2 separate regions of the Homo sapiens genome follow, and region 2 is linked to region 1. The links are contacts of gene promoters, found by promoter capture Hi-C in human tissues and cell types (Jung and others, 2019). All regions are on one chromosome and are shown on one strand. The core of a region is centred on a gene start or on the middle of the fragment in contact, and the rest is flanking DNA. Distances in the headings are between cores, read along the strand shown. Region 1 holds the start of OR5AU1 (olfactory receptor family 5 subfamily AU member 1). Region 2 has its middle 8.9 kb from the start of TMEM253.

What was found. The method cuts DNA at HindIII sites, captures the fragments that hold promoters and counts their contacts. A contact is called where the count stands out against the background at its distance.
Region 2: a contact is called between a fragment that was not itself captured here and the fragment with the promoter of OR5AU1 in region 1, in 2 of the 25 tissues and cell types used here (mesendoderm cells and thymus).

Annotation. Positions count from the first base shown.
Region 1 is chr14:21,154,617-21,160,393 of GRCh38, forward strand. OR5AU1 (olfactory receptor family 5 subfamily AU member 1) reads right to left here and starts at 1,447. Exons shown (of 1, transcript NM_001004731.3): 1 at 249-1,447. The coding sequence starts at 1,256. The coding sequence ends at 321. The HindIII fragment of the contact is 4,022 bases long and covers 1-1,794 here.
Region 2 is chr14:21,107,279-21,112,708 of GRCh38, forward strand. It overlaps the pseudogene CKAP2P1. Among named protein-coding and RNA genes, the nearest start is that of TMEM253, 8.9 kb to the left of the region's middle. The HindIII fragment of the contact is 5,951 bases long and covers 1-5,355 here.

The DNA of each region.
Region 1 (5,777 bases), core at 197-2,696:
AAGGGAGGTGGGGAGGGAGGGAGGGAGGGTGGGAAAGGAAAGGAAATACACTAACTGGGAAAAATGAATGAAGCATCTCAACATGGATTACTAAATCTTGCCAACAGGTTGAATTATGCAACAAGCAGACACACCCTTCTCACTTCTTAGTCTCTAGGACACCATCATTTCTTCTGTGGCAGGTAGATGCAGAAGCACCTGCAGACCAGAGGGCATGCCCAATATTCACAGGGGTGGGCATGGGAATGTGCTCAGGGTGACACCACCTAAGGTAAAAGTTCCCTTGACTTTCTAAAGATATGTGGTAATGCATTGAGAAATCATTCCATTGTTTTCCTACCCCAAACCTTTATTAAAGCTTTCTTCACATCCTTGTTTCTCAAAGAGTACATGAGGGGGTTCAGCACTGGGATCACCACTGTGTAGATGACAGCAACTGTGCGGTCCTGGGTCAAGGAGTAGCTGGACCTGGGGCGCAGGTACATAAAAAGTGTTGTGCCAAAGAAGAGGCAGATGGCAGTGAGGTGGGATGCACAGGTGGAAAATGCCTTAAACCTGCCCTGGGCCGAGCTCATTTTCAGGATGGTGTTGAGAATTAAGAAGTAGGAGATCAAGATGGTGAGGGTGCAGCTCAAAAGGTTGAAACCAGCAAAAATGAAGAGCAGGATCTCACACAGTGAGGTGTCTACACAAGACAAGGACAGGATGGGTGGCCCATCACAGAAGAAGTGAGTGACGACATGAGCACCGCAGAATTTCAGACTAAAGATACAGCCAGTGTGGATAAGAGAATTGAGGAATCCTGCACTGTAGGAGCCCACAATCAGCGAGGCACAGACCTCAGGAGACATGATGGTTGAGTAGAGCAGGGGGTTACAAATAGCGGCATAGCGGTCATAGGCCATGGCAGCGATGAGATAGCACTCACTGGTGGCAAAACCCGCATAGAAGAACATCTGAGTCATGCAGCCAAAATAAGAGATCACTTTCCTCTTGGCCAAGAAGTTCACCAGGGTCTGGGGCACAACCGTGGAGGAGTAGCAGAAATCCAAGAAGGAGAGGCTCTTCAGGAGGGAGTACATGGGTGTGTGCAGGGTGGCACTCACATGGATCAGGAGGAACATGACCAGGTTCCCCAGCAGAGTGGCTGTGTACATGCCCAGGAACACCACGAAGAGCAGCCTCTGGAGCTGGGGGTCAGTGGTGAGGCCCAAGAGCTCAAACTCCATCCCTTGGCTCAGGTTTGCCCCTTTCATCCTTCTCCAGTGCTCTGCGATGGAGAAAGAAGGCACCACCATAAATGAGGTTGAACACCTGGGGCTCTGACTGGGTTTAATTCTGCCTAAGGACAGCCTTCTGAAGATGAGTCTTATTGAGGGCATTTGGCTTTGCAGATGAAACTCTGTCATAGAGAGGATCTTTTCTCCTTGGTTGGTTGGTTAGTTGGTAAGCATTACTTAAGCAGCAATGGAAAATATAAGAGAAATATCTACAATTGGTCTTGGGGATCTTAAAAATTCTAAGTAATGAAACAGTCACTCACCAAGTATATATTCATAGTTTTCCATTTGCTTAGCTCTGTGTTCTCCCTATCAGGAATTCAAGAGTGCCTGACCTTGGGAAGCTTATATTCTACAGACAGTATATTTTGTGTTTAAGCCACACATACTGTGGTATCAGACTGCTAAGGTTCAAAGTTAGGACTTTGCCATTAACTAGCTGTGTAATCTTGGGAATGTTACTTTACCTTTCTGAGTTTCCATTTTTCCATCTGTGAAATAGGGATAATAGCAACTGTCTATAAAGATTATTATAAAAATTCAATGAGTTATTTCATGCAGAGAAGTTGAACAAATTCCAGCACGTTGAGGAAGTTCAAAGAAGGTTAGCTATGAGCATGCTCACTAAGAAGATAGATCCAAAACCTAAATAAACATGATAAATGAGATGAACCCACAACAAAGCTTAGCAAGCAACCTACCACCTAACAGTATAGACAGAGACACACGTGCTATGCAAGCGTGACTAAACAGGCTTTCAGAGAGGCTGTAGATGGCTGATGGGTCAGCTATAAAACTGGCCCTGTGAAATCAGCACTACCCAGGCAATAATGTGAATACTTAAGGTAACAAGGGCTGAGAGTGTGGAGAGATGGAGGTAGTGTAAGACTGCATGTGGGAGCCTCCACCAACGGGAGAGTCTCCTCATCATCCATAAAGCTGCCCATCATTTCCAGAGAACAAAATCACCCTGGACTCAGAGGATGTTATGGCCAGTAGGAAAGGAACGAAGTGAGTGAGTCTTTGTGAAAATGCCTTTTCTATTTAGAGAGTGAACAAAGCTTGAATGCATCACCTAAACACCACACTCTCCTCTGTTCCATTGGCTCCTCTACCACGTGTCTTCCCAAGTTACCTCTGGGTGCTGAGCCAGTTAAGCACCCTGTGCTCTTGGGTGAAGACTCTCAGTTACAAAGACTTTGAAGCTAACAGATGTGGCTGAGTAGGACAAAAAGGGGCAAAAGTGAGCTGCCTCATCCTGCCCTGAGGAGAGTAAGCGAATAACACACCTGTGAAAAGTGTTGGGAGAATTTGGAGAGGAAAGAGCTGGATTGAGCAAGCAAACATTCTGACGAATTCCAATGACATAATTTCCAGAATCATCAAACTACCTGGGCAGGAGAAGATTCTGGACATATGTATAACTAAATTTAGTTGTCAGGCAGGGAATGAGGCACCATTTGTGTTGATAGAATACTGTGACTGGTGACAAGAAAAAGGCTTTTAGAAATGCCCAAAGAGGTAACATGCCCTAATAAAATTGAGACACAAAATATAAGTGCAAATTTGAACACAGAACATTAGCAACTGCTTTTAGAACTCATGGAATGCAATTCTGTGACTTATTTCATGTCACTTAGATGTAACATTCAGCTATCCTTACTCTAACAGCTGTCATTTTATAATAAATCTCACTATTGTAGAATGTGGGCAGTCCTAGATTTGGGTTGCAAATGTCTTTGGCGCCATTGGTGACAAAGGCCAATTCGACTTCAAGGCAAATTAGAGGAATTCAGATAAATGACTGTAAAACTCCCAGAGTGGAAATAACTTGCAGGCACTTTAAGAAAATAGAAAGGTGGTCATTAGGAGTGGAGTAGAATTTTCAGACCCAGCTTCCCATCTTCTTTCCTTGGTGGGCTGTTTCAATTTAGGTAATAGGTCTGCAAGTATCTCTCTGATTAAAAGAACAAAAGAAGAGAAAAATAGAAATATGTGCAATGCTCCAGACAGTATGGATGAGGCAGGAAGCATACACTGGGGTGGAGTGGTGGGATGGGATGGGGTAGGGTGGTGGGTAATACAGTGGATAGCTGATCAGAGCCTCCAGATTTATCATTTACTTTAAACCCACACTCTCTCTTCTGCTCCCCTCTCCTCTTTCATCTCTCTTCACCAATCTGCACTAAATTCAAAATTCTTAAGAATATAGAGTGACTCAAGGAAAGGATTATGGAGAAATTGGCATCTCTGACAGTTGTTCAAAGGATGCTGGAATTACCACTATTTCTATTGGCTATTGTTTGTACCTGTGAATGAAATGTAGGAGGAAAACTTAAAGATGATCTTATCATATGGGAGTGGATTATGGAGTGGAGTGCATAAGAGTGAGAGCAAATGCCTGGGGCCTGTGGATGAGGGAGGCATAGGAAAGAAGCTCTGTTTATACCCGACTCATTGCCCCCATCCCTGGGATAGCACAGTGAGAGCACATGTGGATATGAAGGGCAGGCAGCCAAGAAAAGCAGCCAGTGAGATTCCCTGAGCAACAGTGATCCCAAACAATGGTTCTTAAACAGTAAGCTGCCTTGCCCAAGGTTCACAGGAGAAGCTTGTTACATGTGCAGATTCCAGGTCCCAACCCACAGAAAATTTGATCCAATAGGTCTATAGCTTGGCCCCAAAGTCTGGTGATTCTGACTGAGACAGGAGGTCTCTGAACCTCACTCTGAGAAACACTAAACCATGGGGTACTTGCAGGAGCAAACAGATCTTCCTGAGCCACATATACGTATCTCTTCCTAGCTTGCTGGATTTGTCCGTGTCCTGGGAAATCAGCCTGTGGGTAGGATGGTCATCCTGGACATGCTCTTCCCTCCAGAAGACCTATCTGTGGTTAACCATTTCCGGAAATCTGGGTTACTACCTGATGATAATCTAACACCAGAGCATTTCTTCCTTCAAAGTAGCTTCAGATGTCCTTCAGCAAACCATGTAATTCCAGCAAAGCACCTGGCTTGATGTCAGAGCTGTTGCTGTAGGGGTCAGAACACAAGTCTTCCATGGAAACACAGCAAAGACAAAGCCAGACTCTGCATTCATAGACTGAGTCTGGGGATCAGAGCCTGTCACCGACTTTAGTCTTTCACGTTGTCAGAGGTGTGAGGCAGCCCCACTCCCTGTGAGCTCCTCACAGCTGATCTTGTGCTGGCAGGAGCAACCCCAGAGCCATCTTTTCCCCTGGCAGCCCAGCAGCTCACCACTGGGGAGGAGGATGTGTTCACTGATTAAAGTTTAAAAGGCAGGTGAGGAAGTGGGACTAATTAGCCCCATGAAGGCCCATTAAAGTGTTTGAAAAGTTACTAGCATCTCTGAGAGTCTACCCATGAGGAAACAAGTGGCTGGGAAACTGGGAATGAGGGGACTAGATCCACACAGATCCCTGCAAATATGCTGCTCATTCGCCCCAAAACACTACTCCACCTTCACTCTAAACTTAACTCTTACGTGATTATCTGTATTTCCTCGACACTGGAAAACCAGGTTTTTCTTTCTTCTATGCCAGTTACCCAATGTACATTTGTGCTGTAGATGAGAGCTGAGGACCTTCCTGCCCTTCAGGGTTATAGTAAAGTTAGAGGCATGTTATGTGGTTCCCAAATATTTGGGAATTTTCTAGGTATCTTTCTGTTATTGATTTCTGATTTAAAAGCATATGGTCAGAGAATACATTTTGTATGACTTGATACTTTTGAATTTATTGAGACTTACTTTAAGGCCCAGAATAGGACCTATCTTGGGAAATGTTCTATGTCCACTTGAAAGGAATATATATTCTGTTTTGTTGAGTGGAGTGTTCTATCTGTAACTGCCAATTAGGTCAAGTTGGTTGATATTGTTGTTTGAGTCTTTCTAATCTGCTGCTAATCTCATCCAGTGTATGTTTTCATATCAGACACTGCAGTTTTCATCTACAGAAGTTTGTTTTCAGTCTCTTTTTATATCTTCCTGTCTACATTTTTTGTACATATGGAATACCATTATAACTGTTTTAATGTGCAGTACAGCTTTGAAATCAGACAGCTTGTTGTCAAATCCCTGCTTAACAATTTGTTAGCTAGGTGACATCTAGAAAGTTTATTAACTTTGCTGATACTCATTTTTCTCACCTGTAAAATGTGGATAATAATAGTACCCACCTCATATACCTGTTGATAAGACTGAATTTAATAAGACAACATTTGTAATGATCCCCACAATAAATATTTCTTATTTATTACTGCTTAACAAAGCACCCTAAAACTCAACGTTTTAAGCCAATCACATATTTGCTCAAATATCTGTAATCTTGGCTGGGCTCAGCTGAGTGGTTAGACTGCTGATGTTACCTGAAGTTACTCATGCAGCTACAGTCATCTAGAGCCTCAATTGGGGCTGGATGGTTCGGTATGGCTTCACTCACATACTTCAGTGTGACGGGCTGGAATAGCTGGAGGC
Region 2 (5,430 bases), core at 1,130-3,629, 46 kb before region 1:
TGTGTCTGTTATGCAGTCCTGGCCAGGAGCCACCAAATTCAGTGAACCCAACTACCCAGGGGTAATTGAAGCTGACCGCGCCTGCCTGGCCTGAAGAATGCAGTCTCTTGCCCCTTGCCACCTGGGACTGGGATGCTCTTAATTTCAGTAAGAAATGAAGAGTCTCCCAACAGGTTTCTGGATTCTAGGCCCACACAAAATGGGTCTAGACAAGAAAACAGAAGGGTGTGTTGCTCTGCGTCCACACCCTTCATCCTGGCGGGCCCAGCCAGTGCTGCCTCAAATTTGACATTTGATTAATGGGCTGGCGGGACAGTGGCAGTGGTGTTCTCACTGAGTCACTGTGTTTCCTATAAATATGACAGGATCTATGTACTACAGTGATCAGAGGTCCATCTCCAGGGAACTGGGAATGTGAGATACTGCCCTGACCTGGGCTGCTGCTGCTGGTGACTAAGCAGTGAGCACAGGAGGGAAGGCAGGAAAATGTTTTTAGTTGCTATTTTTTTCATTGTGATAACATGTGTGTATACACACACACACACACACACACACATATGTATATATATATAACTATATATATACCTATATAGTTAAAATCTTCCCATTGCTAACAAATTCATACAACTTTCCCCTAGTTGTTAGCCCCCTCTCCTGACTCCACCCAGCTCCCATAACCCCTAATCCCAGCCTTCTCAAAAAAAAAGGAGGAGGAAGAGAGGAGGAGGGGAAGGAGAAAGGAAAGGAGGAGGAGGTGGAAGAAGAAGAAGACTGCTTTTGGTGTTTGCTTTAACCTGATGTCCCCATTATAATAATTCAGAAGGAAAGGCCTGCTCATATAATTTCCTACGGCCTCAGGCCAGAGACAGCCATACTTACAGGTAAATTGCTACTAGGCTGGCTTCTCCTTAAAATTCAGGTGCCATTTACTATCATCTTCTGTTTCTTTTATGTTTTTCCTTGTTTGCCTATTTTTTTTTCTGACTTATTTCATTTATATTTTGTGTTGCCTACTTTTCTTGGTTCCACTTAGCATCTGAATCTTTGGTTTATTTTTCTTATCAGAAGCTTTTCCTAATTTCTGTCCAGAGTTAATGAATTTTCTTTGTTGATTCTTGACAGTTTTCCCTTGCCATCCATAAAGTTTTCTTGTTTTTACCCAAGTCCAAACTACTAAAATATAATTTTATTTGCTTTGCCTCGTTATATGCTCTCTTTATATATAAAGAAAATGCTATGTGCTCGCTCTTATTCCTTTTTGGAGAGAGGGTCTGGCTCTGTTGCCCCAGGCTGGAGTGCAGTAGCGCGACCTTGGCTCACAACCTCCGCGTCCTGGGCTCAAGCCGTCTTCCCAGTTCAGCCTCCCAAGTAGCTGGGACTACAGATGTATGCCACTACATCTGGTTAATTTTTGTATTTTTTGTAGAGAAGAGGTTTCACCATGTTGCCCAGGCTGGTCTCCAACTCCTGAGCTCAAGCAATCCACCCAACCAAGCCTCCCAAAGTGCTGGAATTATAGGCATGAACCACCGCGCCCGGCCCACTCTTATTCTTTATGTAAAGCTAAAGTCATAGCACAGGAGAAAGAGAATTTATGCTTTTATAAGCCTCAAAGATAATTATGATGAAAAGAAATTGTTCTTTGCGTAACTAAGAAGTGAAACTGGGTCCAGTGGTTACTTGTTATAGAGAGGCCAATTTTAGACTGAAAAATAGAAACTGAACACCTTTCAAAAGATGAAATGCTTTCAAGTTGGGCTCTCAGCCTGTGGATATGTTAGAGCTGTTTTGTGCAATAAGCTTTCTCATGCAATGACAGGTTATTGAAGCAAATATTCAAATATCAGCTGAGTGGTTGAATTAGATGACTTTTAATTTCTCTGCCAACACTCAGATTACATTGGCTTTTCAGCCGTGATGATGTTTTTTAATTGACCCATCCATACTCTCCAATGTCTCGCCCTGGACAAAATTGTAAAATAAGATGCTGGTATTCCTCTAGTCCCTAGAACTGAATGTATCCATCTTGGCACCATTGATATTTGGGCCAGGTAATTCTTTTTTATGGAAGACTGGTGCATTGTAGAATGCTAAGCAGCAACCTTGGGCCCTACCTACTTGATGTCGGTAGCACCCCTCCCTCCAGTTGTGACAACCAAAAATATCTCTACACATTGCCAGATGTCTCCTGGGAAGCAAAATTACTTCTTTCTCTGAAAAACAATGCCTTAGAAGGATATGATAAGAAAGGTTTTAAGAACTTAATGTCTAATTTCTCAAGATCTTTGTATTTAAAAAGACCTGCGAAGATCTACCATAACCAAACAGCACATCCAAAATCTGAATTCCTGCCCTAGCTTTTGCCCCCCACCCCATTTTTCTGAATTTTCTGTGTTGTATTATTGTAACCACATCAGGCCAATCTGGTTCAACTTTTATGTAGCAAAGTTGTAAGTTATTTCTCGGTTGCCATGGACCCCAGGTTGAAAGTCCTGTAACCTGAGCATGCCCAGATGAACACATGTTCTACCACAGGGGAAACCTGAGTACTCAGACCAAGAAGGGTGGGGAGGACTGAATTGAGAAGCAGACACCGCATAGCAGGATCTAGAATCCAATCAGATGAGCTCTGGCATCACCCCATGGCAGGATCCAGTCATATCATGCCTCCTGGCATCATGTCATTGCAAAATGCAATCAGATCACACCTCATTACCCTACGCTTATAAAATCCAACCCAACCCCCAGCTCAGAGAGGCAGGTTTGAGCATTTCTTCCTATCTCCTTGGCAGTTAAATCATGTTGCTTCTCTGCTTAAATGCTTTTCGGTCCTCCCCATTGCCCACAAGCTTAAGTCCAAGCATTTTAAAATGGTGCATGGACTTCTGTGATTTGGCTCCTGCCCACTCTTCGGCGTCATCTCCCATGTCCCCTCTCTTGCACTTCATGATTTGGTGATAGCAGTTTGAGGGAGGTGGCATTGATATTTTTTTTTTCCTTACCAGAGCTTTCTATTTCATCTGTTATTTCAGTCTCAGAGTACATTCAGCATAGTGCTGCATTAGGACAGCATACAAAGGGATCAGTGTCACTTCCCAACTCTGTTAACTCTTCCAATGAAGACACGCAGGGATAATGGTCTTTTAACATACCTGGCAATTTTAAAGTTTTACGCTGACATTGAGAACATCTCACTGGTATTTAAAACTTGAGCTCTTTAAATGTATAATTTGTTTAATCAAATTGCACCTTCTTTTTTACACTTTGCAAGTATGTCATAGTAAATACATTATATTTAATTAAGCAACTTGCCCTAGTTTCTGTATTGGGGATTTTAACATCATTGGTTGGATCTTTTGTTTTGTCATCTTGCTATTTTTCAGAATCTTGAAATAGCACGTTTCCATGATGTCTGTTCTCTTCAGTGCCTGTGGAAGCATACAAAAAATATGATGTCTATTCCCCATTTCTGGTCTTCCTGACTCTGAATTAACAGTTGTATCTTCAGTGTTGACTTCTTGGACTTGTTCCTTGGTTGCACAAGCCTCCTCAATATTTTCTCCAAAACTGACATTTTCTTAACTCTTTATTGGTAGAATATCTACAACTGTGTGTCACATCTCTTCAATAGGTTGAGCCCCTGCCAGAATGGCCTTCTCATAGATTGCGAGAATACTTTCAATAGGACTTGGGGTTGGTTCAGTATGTGCAAGACATATTCAATATTTTACAAGATTTTTGGCATCTGGAATATTTTTAATCAGATCGTTCAGTGTGACCAGTATTTCTTCTTCTGCGCGTCCTTCATTAATTAGGTTTAGGCATTCAGAAAATGTGTCGCTTACCTTTTCAGTAAATAATTTTTGTTCATCTTCTGCCATGGTAGTCCAAAAGGACCCAACTGGTTTTTCATTTTGTTCTTAAGGTTCATACTAGGTAACTATTCAGTTAGGAGGCCTTTTCAGCACTCTTTCTTTGCCAGCTTTCCACTCATTCAGATGAGCTTTTCTCTCTTCTGAGTTTTCTTTGGATTGAGTTGATCTACTATCAGCAGTTGGTTTTGCTATAGTATATCTTCACTGGTCAATAGGTTTTGATTTTTCTATCAGTTTGGCATTAGAAGATGAAGCACAAGTGGGAGCGGTGGCTCACACCTGTAATCCCAGGACTTTGGGAGGCTGAGGTAGGAGGATCCCTTGAGACCAGGAGTTCAAGACCAGCCCGGCCAATATAATGAGACCCTGTCTGTAAAAAAATAGTTGTTGTTTTTTTTTTGAGATGGAGTTTCACTCTTGTTGCCCAGTCTGGAGTGCAATGGCGCAATCTCAGCTCACGGCAACTTCCGCCTCCCAGATTTAAGCAATTCTCCTGCCTCAGCTTCCCAAGTAGCTGGGATTTCAGGCTCCTGACACCATGCCTGGCTAATTTTTGTATTTTTAGTAGAGATGGGGTTTCGTCATGTTGGCCAAGCTGGTCCCGAACTCCTGACCTCAGATGATCCGCCCACCTCGGCCTCCCAAAGTGCTTGGATTATAGGTGTGAGCCACCGTGCCTGGCTTAAAAAATAATTTTTTAAAACAGTAAGATGAAGCAGGCCTGGCTACGATTTCACATGCTATTTTCCTTTTTCTTTTTTCCTTTTTAAAACTTTCTTTATTTTGGCAACCACTTGTCCAAAAGATCAGATGCACAATCTTCTTGATTGTGCCTTATCTCTTTTCTATGTCCTGAGAGGAACTGGTTTTGACCCTAGATAAAACTGTTTTTGATTGTAATAATTCTTTTCTATGAGACCTTTTCCTGATTGTAAACAAGGCTGAGATTCTACCGATGCCTTCTTTCACAGTGTCCTGGGTATTATTGGATGACTTCTAATAAGAGATCACACAAACTTAGCACTACATTTGGTGTACCCCAAGTTACATTTAGTGTAACCCAGGGTCCTTGCACACACTGTGAACAAGTACACACTGTTGCACCTTGAGTTTTTGTTGTTTCAAAAAGTTCCAGGAAGAAGCAAAACAAAACCCATTCGATCCAGAGATGCCCTCTGAATTGGAGATGAATTTGGCAAACTCCCCACATTACCATACAAAAAGTTCCACCCAAGGAGGAGTATTTTTGCCACTTTCTATACATGTGATATATGAAGAAGCATGATTGATGACTGTACTCCACCTCTACATACGATGACTCAGCTAAGCAGCCCAATACAAGCCCTGTTTTTAGCTTTATTCCGAGAGGAACTGCTTTGGGAATTATCCCCAGTATTCTCCTTCTTTGTTGCAAGTAATGAAATCCCCTTGTTAAATTTTCCTTGGTTGTGGTCATTGGACTGTCACTGGCCAAGCGACCAGCTCACCCATTGTGTGGTAACAGTAGCAGTTATATTTGAGACTCTATTACTCTTCACTGTTACGCTGCTGGTGT